2 separate regions of the Homo sapiens genome follow, and region 2 is linked to region 1. Evidence: promoter capture Hi-C in human tissues and cell types (Jung and others, 2019). All regions are on one chromosome and are shown on one strand. The core of a region is centred on a gene start or on the middle of the fragment in contact, and the rest is flanking DNA. Distances in the headings are between cores, read along the strand shown. Region 1 holds the start of ABCA2 (ATP binding cassette subfamily A member 2). Region 2 overlaps SEC16A (SEC16 homolog A, endoplasmic reticulum export factor).

The links. The method cuts DNA at HindIII sites, captures the fragments that hold promoters and counts their contacts. A contact is called where the count stands out against the background at its distance.
Region 2: a fragment that was not itself captured here is called in contact with the fragment with the promoter of ABCA2 in region 1 in 1 of the 25 tissues and cell types used here (spleen).

What each region holds. Positions count from the first base shown.
Region 1 is chr9:137,025,154-137,031,689 of GRCh38, forward strand. It overlaps ABCA2 (ATP binding cassette subfamily A member 2), which reads right to left and starts at 3,084. Exons shown (of 49, transcript NM_001606.5): 1 at 2,922-3,084. The coding sequence starts at 2,987. LINC02908 (long intergenic non-protein coding RNA 2908) reads left to right here and starts at 2,311. Exons shown (of 3, transcript NR_171031.1): 1 at 2,311-2,758. FUT7 (fucosyltransferase 7) reads right to left here. Exons shown (of 2, transcript NM_004479.4): 2 at 5,021-6,536. The coding sequence ends at 5,557. RefSeq lists a silencer at 3,162-3,341 and an enhancer at 3,225-3,969. The HindIII fragment of the contact is 11,656 bases long and covers 2,904-6,536 here.
Region 2 is chr9:136,451,305-136,457,840 of GRCh38, forward strand. SEC16A (SEC16 homolog A, endoplasmic reticulum export factor) reads right to left here. Exons shown (of 32, transcript NM_014866.2): 18 at 6,140-6,280; 19 at 4,749-4,862; 20 at 4,297-4,489; 21 at 2,805-3,023; 22 at 2,124-2,206; 23 at 1-104. Among named protein-coding and RNA genes, the nearest start is that of INPP5E, 15 kb to the left of the region's middle. The HindIII fragment of the contact is 5,536 bases long and covers 189-5,724 here.

The DNA.
Region 1 (6,536 bases), core at 1,834-4,333:
CGGCTCCTGCTAACCCAGGCTGGGCACCAAGGTGAGCCCTAGTGGGACCTGCGTGGAGTGAGAAAGAGGTGCTTTGCTCACTTCACCTGAAAACCAAGGACTTTACCGGTTCTTGTGTCCCAGCCCCCAGCTCAGGGAGGAGGAGGAGCTTGAGCCAGCTACCCTCCAGAGAGCCCTCGGCAGACCAGCCCTCTCTGAGACCCACAGGACAGAGGGGCCCTGCCCTCCCTAGCCCGAGGGCGAGCACCCAGCTCGGAGGCATCCTTTGTCCTCATCCCCATCCCAAAACCCTTCAGAGCCCCCAGTGTGCTGTGTGGCCCGGGCCGAGTCCCCGGTCCCTGGGGTGGGGGCGGCTGCTGTGTTTACTGTGCTTGGACAATAGGGCTTTGTGGCCAGGAACATCATGCTGTGGGTGTCCCATGCCCGCCCCAGCCCGTGCCAGCCTCCACCCGCTCCCTGAGCCAGGACGGAGCCCAGGGTTCGCCAAGGCACTGTGGGCACCAACAGGCACCAGGGCGAGGGTGGCTGCAGGAGTGAGGCAATGTCAGAGGCAGGGGTCACAGCACGGGGCGCCAGCCCCGCCCACACCCGGCCTGCTATGGGCACTGTAACTGCAGCAACAGGCCCGGCTGCCTCCCCCATTGCTATAGCAACGGCCTCGCACGAGCTACTGGGAGGAGGAGGAGAGTCCTGGCTGGCAGGCGGCGGGCGCCACAGCAGCATCTGGTTACAGGCGGCAGCACAGGTCTAGCACGCCCTGGGTGCCCCACACAGGTGCCTCCAGGTGGCCCAACCTCCGTCCCTCGAGACCAGCCCAGTGCCTTCACATCGCCTGGAGGCCTAGATGCCTTCTCTGGGCATGACCCCTCCCTGTAGCTCCCGCCTACTGTGTCGGGGGGAGAACAGGTGAGACCCGAGGGTGGCGCTGCCATCTGCCATCCCAGTGACTTCATGACAGTGACCCTGTCCCTGCACCAAGAGCAGCCTGTAGCCCAAGGGTAGACCCAAGTCCAGCTAACTAAGAGGAGATAGGCCACACTCACAGACAGGGAAACTGAGGCAAAGAGCTTGGAGGAGCCTGCTAGCAGCACAGAGGTCCTTGGCACCCACCCTCCAGACCCTGAGCTCTGCCCAGGGTGGAGCTCTGCCCAGGGTGCACCCCTGCCCCAGCAGGGCGCATGGCACACAGGGCAAACCTCTGTCATCCAAGCTTGGCCCCAAGAGTCCAGCTCTGATGTCCAAGATCCTTCCCAGGAAAGTGGGGACCCAGCAGGAGTGTGCCCAGTGTCCAGCCAGCCCCAGCCCCACATCACAAGCCTGGCAAGGACTCAGCCTCCCTGGGGGAAACAGTTCCCCACCTGCTCCAGCCATGGGCTAAGGACCTCCACTGTGGCCCAGTGGGCCTCTGGGAGCCCTGTAGGGTGGGGACCCAAAAAGGTCCTGGGGGGCAGCCCAAACCAGCAGCTGGGAGTCACTCTTGCGGTCAGGACAGTGCACACCTCCCACCTGCTTGCCAGCTGCCCTCATAGGCCACACTCCCTTCCCTGAGCATTGTCCCCACTGGAACAGGGGCCACCATTCCAGCCTCTGCTCCCAAGCCCAGTGGGGACCTTCCTGACAACCACCCCCGGGGACTAATACTAATGCATGCCACATGCCACATCCCTGTTCCCTTGGCCCTGCTCTGCTGTCCCCAGTGACTCAATGCCAGGGGCTGCAGGCCTGATCCATGGGACCCCACTCAGCCAGCTCCAGGTGCCTGGCCAGGGCATGTACCTAACCCAGGCTCCCCGCCAAGGCCAGGTGCCCAGGGGAATTCTGCCAGCCATGGTGATGATGGCCACCCCAGCTGACTGCAGCCTGGGTTTCCTGCAGTGCATGTTGAAAGATAAACAGGCACGGACTGGTGCAGCCCAAGGGGTCCCGCCCGGGCCCTGGCTGGGCAAGAGGATGTCTGCCTTAGGCCCCCACCTGCTCTGAGCCCTGGCCTGGACAATCCCAAGGGCCTTCAGAAACCTAAGCTGGTCCAGGCCTGTGGCCTGGGAGGTGTCCCTTCCCTTCCCAGGCTGGAGCCAAGCTGGCCAGCTGGGGGTATGGCAGGACACCCATATCCCCAAGCCCCTCGCTCCACGAAGGACTTCTGTCCCTGACAGCCATGTGTCCTGCACCCTCAGGTCCACTGGCTGCCCAGGCAGTGCTGGGAAAGCCGGGGTTCACAGCTCCAAACAGTAGACCCAGCCCCCAGAGCAGGTGGGGGGACCAGGAGGCAACAGAGTGGATCAGGCTCGGGGAGAACTGACCCCAAAGGACAAATGGGTGCAGAGATTCAGGCTGGCCAAGGCTGGCACAAGGACATTCCCAGTGGCGAGAGCATGAGCAAGGGTCACGGATGTGCCAGGAGGGGAGGCGGAGAGATGCCTGGGACCAACCTCTATGGCAGGCCGCGGCCCAAGGGCAGGGGAGGGGTGGACGGAGGGAAGGGACAGGGTCTCCTCCGGGACCCCAGGGAGGCTGGGCCCAAGGACCATGGAGCCTCGCAGCTGAATGGAGCCCCCCAGGCCTGCCTTCTGTCCTGGGAACCAGGGCCTCCCTCGAGCCAGAGTCCTGAGCGCCGCTTGCCCCCCGCCCACAGCGGCCCCAGCGAGCGCGCTGCAGAGGGCGCGGGTGCCGTGACTCAGCCGAGCACCGCGATGTCAGCGGACGCGGGACCGGACTGGACACGACCGAGCCACCTCCCCGGAGGCCGCAGCGCCGGCAGGCGAGGGCAGGGCCCGGCGGGGAGGGGGCTCGGGCCCGCGCCGCCCCCAGCGCCCGCCGGGGTCTGCGCGCGCCCGGCCGTCCGCACGTGCGCGCGGGGAGCGCGCCTCTGGCCGCGGTGCGCGCGGCCTCGGGCTGAGGGCGGGCGCGTGGGGTGGGCTCACCGGGCTCCGGCGTTTGAGCGTCACGTTCTTCCAGAGCAGCAGCTGCAGCTGGTGCAGGAAGCCCATGGCGGGGCCACGCTCCGCCGCCTCAGCGCCGCGGCCCGCTCCTCTGCGCGCCCCGCCGGGCCCCGCAGCCCGCCGCGCCGCTGGGCATCGCCCGCGCGGGGGCGGGGCGCTCGGGCGTCCGGGACCCGATCCGCGCTGGCTCCGCCCCGGCGGCCGCGGCGACAGCGACTCTGCCCGCGCCCCGCCCGCCCCCGCTTAAAGGCGCCGCGCTCCGTCCGCGCCCGCCAGGAGGCGCCCGCCGCCCGCGCCGCGCCCGGGACCGACCCGGGCCCGAGACCCTGCGCGCGCCGCCGCCGGGAAGCCTCCGGGCCGCCCCTCGCCGGGCGTCACGCGACGCGCCCACATCGAATCCGAGACCCCGGCTTAGCCTTCGTAGGCCGGGGGACCCTCGGGCGCTGCGCTCTTCTCCCAGAGGCATCCGGCTGCGCCCACCGCGCTGGCGACTCTGCAGAGGCGCCCCAAGCCTTCACTGTCCCCGGGGCGCGCCGAGCGGACGCTGGCGAGGGGCCAGCTCACCCCCGTAAGGGTCTCCTGTGTGCTTTGTAAACCAGCACTTGGAGTCCAGGTGGTGCCCACCTGGAAGGGAGGCAGGGCGGCCAGGTGGGTCCGTCCCGCGATTCCGAGCAGCCAGCGGAAGGGGGGAAACTCGAGGCCCCAGGAACGCTCGCCGTGAGCGGAGCAGGCAGGGGACCGAGGCGGCCCCTGCTGCACGCGGCTCGTTTTTCTCCCCATATTCGGGCGAGTCTGGTCTCTGCACAGGGAGTTCGGGATCAGGCGGTTCTGCGGCTGTGGCTTGGCACCTGCTGGGGCGCCCCGGGAGGTGGGGCAGTTCCTCCGCGTGGCCTGTAGAGAGCGACAGAGGACAGGCTGACCCCATGGGTGGCTCTGACGGCGCTTCCCAGACTCAGTTTCCCCCCTGTGAATGGGGTGGAGTAGCGCTGTGTGGTGTCCAGTGTCAGGGCGCACATAGAAGGCGCATCCTCAAGTGAATGAAGACCTCCGAGGCCACAGCTCCCCACTCCTCCCAGCTCCTTTGCAGCAGGAAGGTGACCCTGGGCTAGTGAGTGAGGGATCAGCTTCCCACCCCAGCCCGCAGCCTCAAGGCACTTGCTTTTCTCTGCTCAGTCCACAGGGCTGGGTCAGGGCAGGAAGCTACCAGCAGGTCTTTCCCACAAGCCACAGCCATGGGTGAGGGGGGCTTCCTGCCCTCAACCTGCCCACCCCTACCTGGGGTAGGGACAAGCCCTGTGCCCCAGCCCCGGGGGCTTAGCCTGTTGGGGCCCTGGTCAGCACCACCCGTGGGTTGGCCTCTCTCCTCCTCGCCCCACTCTCCACCGTCCACTACAGGGGCTCCCTGGCTGCAGCCGCATCCCCAGTGCCTCCCCAGCACTGGCCACCAGAGGGAGCTACAAGGCACAGGTCAGACCCTGTCACCCCAGACACCCTCCAGCCTGCGGGCCTGGGAGATGGGCGATTTCAGCCTGGCCAGGCCTCTGACGTCCGTTCCCTACTCTTCCCCAACCTTGGCCTGTTTTGGTTTTTGTTTTGAGACAGGGTCTCATTCTGTTGCCCAGGCTGGAGTGCTGTGGTGTGATCACGGCTCACTGAAGCTTCAACCTCCTGGGCTCAAGCCATCCTCTCACCTCAGTATCCCAAGTAGCTGAGACCACAAGCGTGAGCCACCACGCCCTGCTAATTCTTGTATTTTTGGTAGAGATGAGATTTCACTACACTGCCCAGGCTGGTCTCGAACTCCTGGGCTCATCGCCTTGGCCTTTTGGGGGACACAGAAGGCTCTCTGATAAGGGGCCGTCTGGCGGAGGCTGTAGGAACTGGGGTAGCCAGTGGGCAGCCCGGCACAGGGAGGGCTCTCAGGCGGAGGGTGAGCAAAGGCCCAGAAGTCAGGCGACAGGACCCCCCGTGGGGAACAAGCAGCCCCATGGCCGTGGGGGCGACATGTCAGGGGAGGGCAGATGCAGGCTCTGTGGCCCTGCACGGAGGTGACCCATGAGACACTGGCCAGACCCACGAGGCACTGCTCAGATGTTTATTGTCCACCGCCCTCCCTCCCTGAGCCCAGAACAAGCTGGTTTGCTCCCCGTGGTCTCCTGGGCCCCGCCCCAGCCTACACACAGGGACCTCAGAACTATGGACGTGGCAGGGACCCGTGCCTGTGTCTCGGGGACCACAGGGCCTCTGCTACCGAGGAAGCTCGGGGTCCCAGGTTTGGCCCCCACAAACTTCAGGCTGGGGTGCCCCCCAGCCCCAAGGGCCCTGCCTTTCACCCTCTTCCAGCCAGGCCTTCACCCACCCAAGATTTGTTCAGGGTGGGGAGGGTCCTCGGCAGCCTTTCCCCTCCCGTCTGCCGCAGCAGGCACCCGTTACCTCCCTCCCACTCTCACCTCCTCTGCATGCTCCAGTGCCCACCTGCACCCCCCACCCCTGCTTCCTGACCTCTGTGCCCAGCCTCCCGTTAGCCCGCTGCTTGCCGGTAAGGGCCGGATGCCTGGTGGTTTGATTTCGACACCCAGCCCTTCCACCCACACCCACCTCCCCCGGCCAGCGGATCTCAGGCCTGAAACCAACCCTCAAGGTCCTCATAGACTTGGCTGCGGGGTAGGTGTGGGTAGCGGTCACAGATGGCACAGAAACGTTCCCGCCAGTCGGTGAACAGTCGCACGCGGAGCCTGTCACGCCAGGCAAAGAAGCGTTGGTATCGGCTCTCATTCATGCCAGTGAGGAAAGCCGCCAGCTCTCGGGCTGAGCCAAAGTCATCCACATGCACGAAGGCGTCAGCCGGCACGAAGGCCTCATAGGTGGCCCGTGGGGGCCCCAGCACCACTGGCACAGTGCCAGCCACCAGTGCGTTGCGCCAGAATTTCTCCGTAATGTAGTCGCGGTGCTGAGAGTTCTCAAAGGACAGGTAGAAGCGGTACTGGGCCACGGTGGGCACCAGGCAGCTGGCGCACAGTGGCCGTCCATTGGCACGGCCAAAGACATCCACCCGCAGATGAGGCGCCAGCTGCCGGTACAGCCTGGCACGCAGCTGCCGCTCCTGGAAGTTGCTGACCACCCAGGCGGCCACCCTGCTCTTGGCTGGCAGCGGTGGCGAGGGCCCCCAGTGGGGCTCCAGGCGGCCATAGGGCACAAAGATGTCCGAGTCGCGCCGGTAGCTCAGCACCCAGTTGAAGATGCCTCGGAGGTGGCTGAGGCCGTGGGTGTGGCTAGGAGACTCCATGGAGGCCCACACCCAGGGCTGCCCTCGCGGCCGCTGGGCCAGGGGCAGGTGGGACCGCCGGGTCTGCAGCTCGCGGTGGTGGAAGACCACGGCGTCGGCGCTGGCCAGCAGGCTTCGGTTGGCACTCAGGTGGCAGCGGGCGATGCCGTAGCGGGTGCAGGTGTCGCTGGGCAGCTCTGGGGGCTGGTCAGTGAAGGGCCAGTGCCAGACAAGGATGGTGATCGTGGGCTGGGGTGCCGGGGTACCCCGAGGGGCTGACCCCAGCAGCCACAGGAGCCAGAGGGCAGCGAGCAGAGCCACCCCGGCCAGGA
Region 2 (6,536 bases), core at 1,707-4,206, 570 kb before region 1:
GTTTCGGGAGCGGGTGAGAGAGACAGAGGTGGCTGCGTGGGACCCGAGTCGGCACGATCCCACCCTGGGGGGGCCTCCGAGTCTGGCACCGTCCTCGAGGGGGTCTGTCGCAAGGAAATGCAGAACAGGCTCTCCTGGGGCTCCTCACAGGAACCGAAAGAGAGAGGGGGATGCAATTCCCCAGGCGTGTTTCCTAAATACATCACTGAGAGGCCGGATGACTCTGGTGACCAGAGGGAGGCAGGAAGGGGGCTGGGGAGAGCAGCCCCCTGACTGGGCCTCCCAGAGCCTCTACCTGGCCTGACTAGAGAAGAGCCAGCCGCACTTAATAAGCAGCTCCGTCTGGGAGCACTCAGCACTCAGAATGCAAATGAGGGCGTTCGATGGAGATTCCGGGCTGGAAGAAACGGAGTGTGAGCATGCACTGAGGGAAGACTGGCCAGAGGGGGGCGATGGGTGTTCTCAAAGATACAATGATTTTTAAAAATATTTATTCCTGGGTCAAGTCCCAATTTTTAATAGCTCAACCCTCATTTTTACTTTTCCAGGGACACAGTATTTTAAAGGGTAAAACACCTAATGCAAGTTCAAACTATAGCAATCGCCTACTGATGGGATGCCCGTGAAGGGCTGGGTATCTGTAAAGAAGGTTCCAGAATGCGGTCTGTATAAAAGCAACCATCCCTCCTGGTTAGGAGTAGAGCAAACAGAGGAGGTATTTATACCAAACATGTCTAATGAGATAAATCTCACTTTCAGGAAAACCAGTGACAATGTTAGAAATTCTACTGAATTCCAGGACATCCTCTTGTGAGATCAAAAAATTAGAAAAGAAATTCTACTGTAGAAAAAGAGACGGCCGGGCTGGGCGGGGTGGCTCATGCCTGTAATCCCAGCACTTTGGGAGGCTGAGGCAGGTGGATCATGAGGTCAGGAGTTCAAGATCAGCCTGGCCAAGATGGTGAAACCCCATCTCTACTAAAAATACAAAAAAAAATGAGCTGGGTGTGGTGGTGGGCGCCTGTAGTCCCAGCTACTCAGGAGGCTGAGGCAGAGAATTGCTTAAACCTGGGAGGCAGAGGATGCAGTGAGCCAAGATCGCACCACTGCACTCCAGGCTGGGCGACAGAGAGAAACTCCATCTCAAAAAAAAAAAAAAAAAAAAAAAAAAAAAGAGATGGCCAGGTGCAGTGGTTCACACCTTAATCCCAGCACTTTGGGAGGCTGAGGCAGGCAGATCACTTGAGGTCAGGAGTTCGAGACTAGCCTGGCCAACATGGCGAAACCCTGTCTCTACCAAAAAATACAAAAAATTAGCCAGGCATGGTGGCACATGCCTGTAGTCCCAGCTACTTGGGAGGCTGAGGCTGGAGAATCACTTGAACCTGGGAGGCGGAGGTTGCAGTGGCCAAGATGGCGCCACTGCATTCCAGCCTAGGCGACAGAGCGAAACTATGTCTTAGGGAAAAAAAAAAAAAAAAAAAAAGGCCAGGCTTGGTGGATCACACCTGTAATCCCAGCACTTTGGGAGGCTGAGGCGGGTAGATCATGAGGTCAGGAGTTTAAGACCAGCCTGGCCAACATGGTGAAACCCCATCTCTACTAAAAATACAAAAACTAGCCGGGCATGGTGGCACACACCTGTAGTCCCAGCTACTTGTGAGGCTGAGGCACAGAACTGCTTGAACCCAGGAGGTGGAGGTTGCAGTGAGCCGAGATCGCACCACTGCACTCAAGCCTGGGCGACAGAGCAAGAATCTGTCTCAAAAAAAAAAAAAAGAAAAAAAAAAGAAAAAGAGATGTAGAAATCAGAGAAGGTACCCATTTTGGAAGAATTAAAATTAATAAGGGGATTTCATGATATTTGGGTATTTCTTCTACTTAAAGTAACTGTTTTTACACTACTGAATTCTCTCTTCCCCATCTTTCCCTGCCAGTGTTTTCACCAACTCTTCATATTTTAAGGATGAAAGCTATTTAGAAGCACTTTCACTTTAAGAAACAATTTTAGAAACAATTTCATAGTCCTCACTACCATCATCTTACAACTCAACAAGGAGTCTGGGTGCCCACTCGATGAACTTTATGGAAAACAAACAGTTTAAGAAAATGTGACAAAGTACCAGATTAGCAAATTTTCCATCAAAATTTTCTTCGCTTAGCTCGGAAAGTGAGTTTCCAACAGGCGCCTCCTGCGGCACTATCCCTGTCAACGGGAAAGAGAGCAACTATGATCTCAGTCACGAGAAGGCGGGACGTGTGTGTGGCGCACAGATCAACAGGCACACCACCTTCCCACCCAGCTACCGCCACACCAGCATGATCTGCAGAAACCAAGGCTGAACATCTTCCCACATGTGTGCACACTCTTTCATTTTTAAAACTAGGCCTATGTTTTGCTTTGTCCATATACACACATGTAGACATAGGCACAGACCAGGGACAAGATCCACCAAATCGAGTTCCAGACAGTTCATGACCTGCCCCTGTGCATCTCACCAGGCGTCCAGCAGGGCCGTCTAAAGACAGACCCCAGGAGACCCATGGCCACCATGCCCTGCCCCAAATGGCCATTTAAGCTTCACAACAAAAAGCCAAGTTACAAAAGGAACTGGCATTAACACTGCTGTTGTAGTGAGACTCTGAACCCATCCAGTCTGTAACTTCCAGAATTTCTGGTCTACGTTAAGACAAGTAATGTAAGTTGTTTCAAGCTCAAATAACTTCAATCTCTTCCACCAATCCCCACAAACACCACACCCCATGCTGCTTCTGCTCTCGAGACAGCATCTCTGCAGCCCCACCTGGGTCTGGGCTCCTGGCTTCCTGGAGCAAGTGTCTCCTTTCCTGCAGAGGTGGCACACCAGGTGGGAGGCCAGGCCCGGAGGGCTCCAGGAAGCCAAGTGCAGGCCCTGGGGTCACACAGCCAGGACCCGGCTCCAGGGGCCCCGGGGGCAGTGGCACTGGGAACATCGGCACTCTGGCAGGACTGGCCAATGGGCCGTCAGGGAGCGTCTGCGGAGCTGCATGGGAACGGTGGAGAAGAGGTCTGGGGTTACTGAGGGTAGCTTGAGTTACTGGAAGGAGCTGACACTCGACGTGTTTATGACAAGTTATTTTGTACAGCCCCATTTCTTTTATAAGGGAGGTCCAACAGAGCAGAAAGCCTGAAGCCACCACCCCACCGCACCATCCGTGGTTTGCAGAAAAGCAGAGTATCCGCTTCCTTTTCTAGGGGAGGGGCACTTGAGCAGTCACAGCGGCACGCGGGCTCCAGGGCCCGGCCCACACGCAAGCCCATGGCGGCCGCCTGGCACAGAGCTCTGCTAGGCCCGAGTCCCCTCCTCCACGGCCAGGGGTCACACAGGCCACTCGTTCATTCCTTCATTCTTCCGACTCAACATAAAACCTGAGAGGGCTGCTGCCTACCAGCACCATGCTGGGCCCTGGATGCTTCAACAACAAAAGAAATGCTGGGTCCTCATGGGGGTCGGGACAGATGAACTGAGTAAGAGAAAGCGCTAAGGACAGCAATCAACCAGGAAGTGGTAACGGTGTCTGAGGACGAAGCAGACTGGACATCAGGCAGGGAGGGTGGGCAGTGGGCCCAAATCAGGAGTGTGGCTGGTCCACAGCGTGGGAGTGGACATGGCACGAGGGCAGGAGGGCTCAGGGCCAAGCTTGGAGGGCCTGTGGCCACCGTGAGGACCCTGGCTTGTCCTCAGGTGAGATGGAGAGTCTGGAGGGTCTGGGGAAGAAGCAGGAGGCGAGCAGGAAGGAGCCCGTGCTCATCCAGGCATGCGGACCTGCGTGCAGGCCGCGCTGGTGAGGTTCACTGACGAAGGAAGCCGAGAAGCGCGAGAGAGGAGGGGGCATCTGGACTTGACTCCCTGGAGCTCTGGGCTGGCCCTTCCACCGACGGGGCCGACTGGGAGAAGCAGGTTACAGAGGGGCACAGCCGAGGGCGCCGCCCAGACACGGTGCGGCTGAGGCTCCCGGAGAAACAAGCAGGGAGGCTGAGCAGGCAGCGGGCGCTCAGGGCAGTGTCGCCAGCACATGGATATTTATGGACATGGAAAGCCATGAGCCTCCCCTCCATGGGCTCCTCAGGGGAGGAAGCATGAAGGGAAGAGGGAGGAGACCGAGGAGCCCCACAACCACCGAGGTGGTGTGAGACACTGCCTCCAACAGTCCACATCTGAAAGCAGTTCTCCAGGAGGCAAGGGTGCAGGCCATGGCTCAGCCCACAGGAAGCAGGGGCTTGTCTGAGGGCAGCAGCCGCGCACCTGGGCTCACCTGAGGGCAGCAGCCGCACGCTCGGGCTCGAGTGCTCAGGGCTCGGTGCAGGCACCGCCAGCAGAGGGTTGGCGATCCCCAGGGCTCCTGGCTGACTGAGTCCTGGCCTGTCCAACTGCTCCATCTCGGAACTCGGAGTGCCAGGACACTGCTGCGGGAGGGCTCCATCCTGATGCCATACTCCAGCCCCCTCCTGAGGGAGAACAAGACCTGCCCTGTGGAAGCCGCCTGTGGCCGCTCTGCAGCGCTGCCCGCCTGCCACCACCGCGCTTGCTGTGTCCCTACTTCAGGACAGGAGGCACTCAAAGCCCTTTCTGGGGAATTAGGGAATTCTCATAGGCACACGTTTGCAGTTACACTGTCTTTACAGATACATACTTTCAGTGTGGAAATGACAGGGACAGAAGCCACCTTGCCAGACGCCTCTGTGCCACCCCAAGCCAAGGCTGTACCTTAATCTGCCGCTCCACCTGCTGCAGGTGAACCAGCCACGTGGGTGCGGCCAAGGACTCCTCTTCTGGCTTCTCTTTCAGCTGGGGATCGAAGAGTCGTAACTGGGAAGCCATCTAGACACGGGCAAAAATCAAAGGCCCCTGTCACCACCGGGTGATGGCAAGTGAGCCGTCTTCAAAATGCCGGGCAATGCAGCTTCAGTGTTCACTGGCAATAAAGTTTAATTAGCTGCCTATATGTTTCTAGTATGTGCTTAGGTGACATACACAGCACATGGGACGCTGGGTGACTGGGAAGTTGCTGTAGACGACCTCTTGGCCCACGGGCACTGGGTTGGCAGTGCTAGGCACCCCCCTGGAACAGGCCTGGCCCGAGACTACCACCTGACCACGTGGACCTGACTCAGCAAAAGCTGGACTCCCCCAGGAATGTCTGCATGCTTTCATCGGGAATTTGGGGGATGCAGAGCGGGACAGAGGGGGCAGAACACAAGTTTGGCCCTGTGTTCGTAACCACTAAGGTGGGGGATGAGCACCTAAGGACGCATGCATGAATGACTCTCTGAACTTTGAAATGGGTCTAAAAATGTCCCTAATACAGTTTTTGGGTATCCCATGAGCACGTTCTCACAAATGGAACTACTGACAAGAGGTGAAGATCCTGATGCAACACGGGCGCCTCCCATACTCTCGTCAGTCATGCCGCCTCTGTTTTACAGGCGAAGAAACTGAGGCCTGCAGCAGTACAGCCAGGACTCAAGCAAAGGCTGCTGGACTCTGGACACTTAAGCTATCAACCACCAGACTAAATTGCCTCAAAATAAGAATATCCTGGCCGGGCGTGGTGGCTCACGCCTGTAATCCCAGCACTTTGGGAGGCCAAGGCAGATGCATGCATCACTTGAGGTCAAGAGTTCGAGACCAGCCTGGCCAACATGGTGAAACCCCATCTCTACTAAAAATACAAAAAATTGGCCAAGCGTGGTGGCAGGCGCCTGTAATCCCAGCTACTTGGGAGGCTGAGGCAGGAGCATCACTTGAATCTGGGAGGCGGAGGTTGCATTGAGCCGAGATTGCACCACACTGCACTCCAGCCTGGGTGACAGAGTGAGACTGCGTCTCAATAAAAGAAGAGTATCCTACAGGTAGTTCCTTCTGATTGTGAAACTCGCTGCCAAGGCTCTGTGCTGGCACACGGTGCCTGAGAGTTCCCAGGCTAAGACGCAAAACACGAAGCCATTCAAAGATCTTTATCCGCCCAAGAGGCAGGTTCTGAGCGCCTACCACAATGCGCGTCTGAACCATCGCTACCCCCATGCCCGGGGGCTCTGGCAAGCCCTCCTTCCCTGCAGTCAGCACAGCATCCCGAGGACAGGCGCCAGGGGCAGCACCTGCACAAGCTGGCTGATCAACACCGGGGAATACAGGTGCGGCTGCGTCAGGATGCTCTTCGCGATGGCCTCACAGTAGTGGAAGGCTTGCGTGGCCAGCCCCATTTCCGCCAGGCGGCAGGAGTAGATGAACTTAAACACCTGAAACGACAGAAGCCTTGCTGCCCTGCGGCTCCCCCGCGTCCGAGCATCGCCGATGGACAAAGCCTTGTACTGCCCTGAGGCTCCCCTGCATCCGAGCATCGCCCTGTGAGCTGTGAACTCTTCTGGACACTTCACTCATCATCGTCTCCCACCCACCACGCCCGCTGACCACAGTCCTAGTCCCTGTTCCCCAAGGGATTTCAAGAGCAAAGTAAACGACTAAGCTGGTAGCAAACTCACTCTGCTTTCCCCC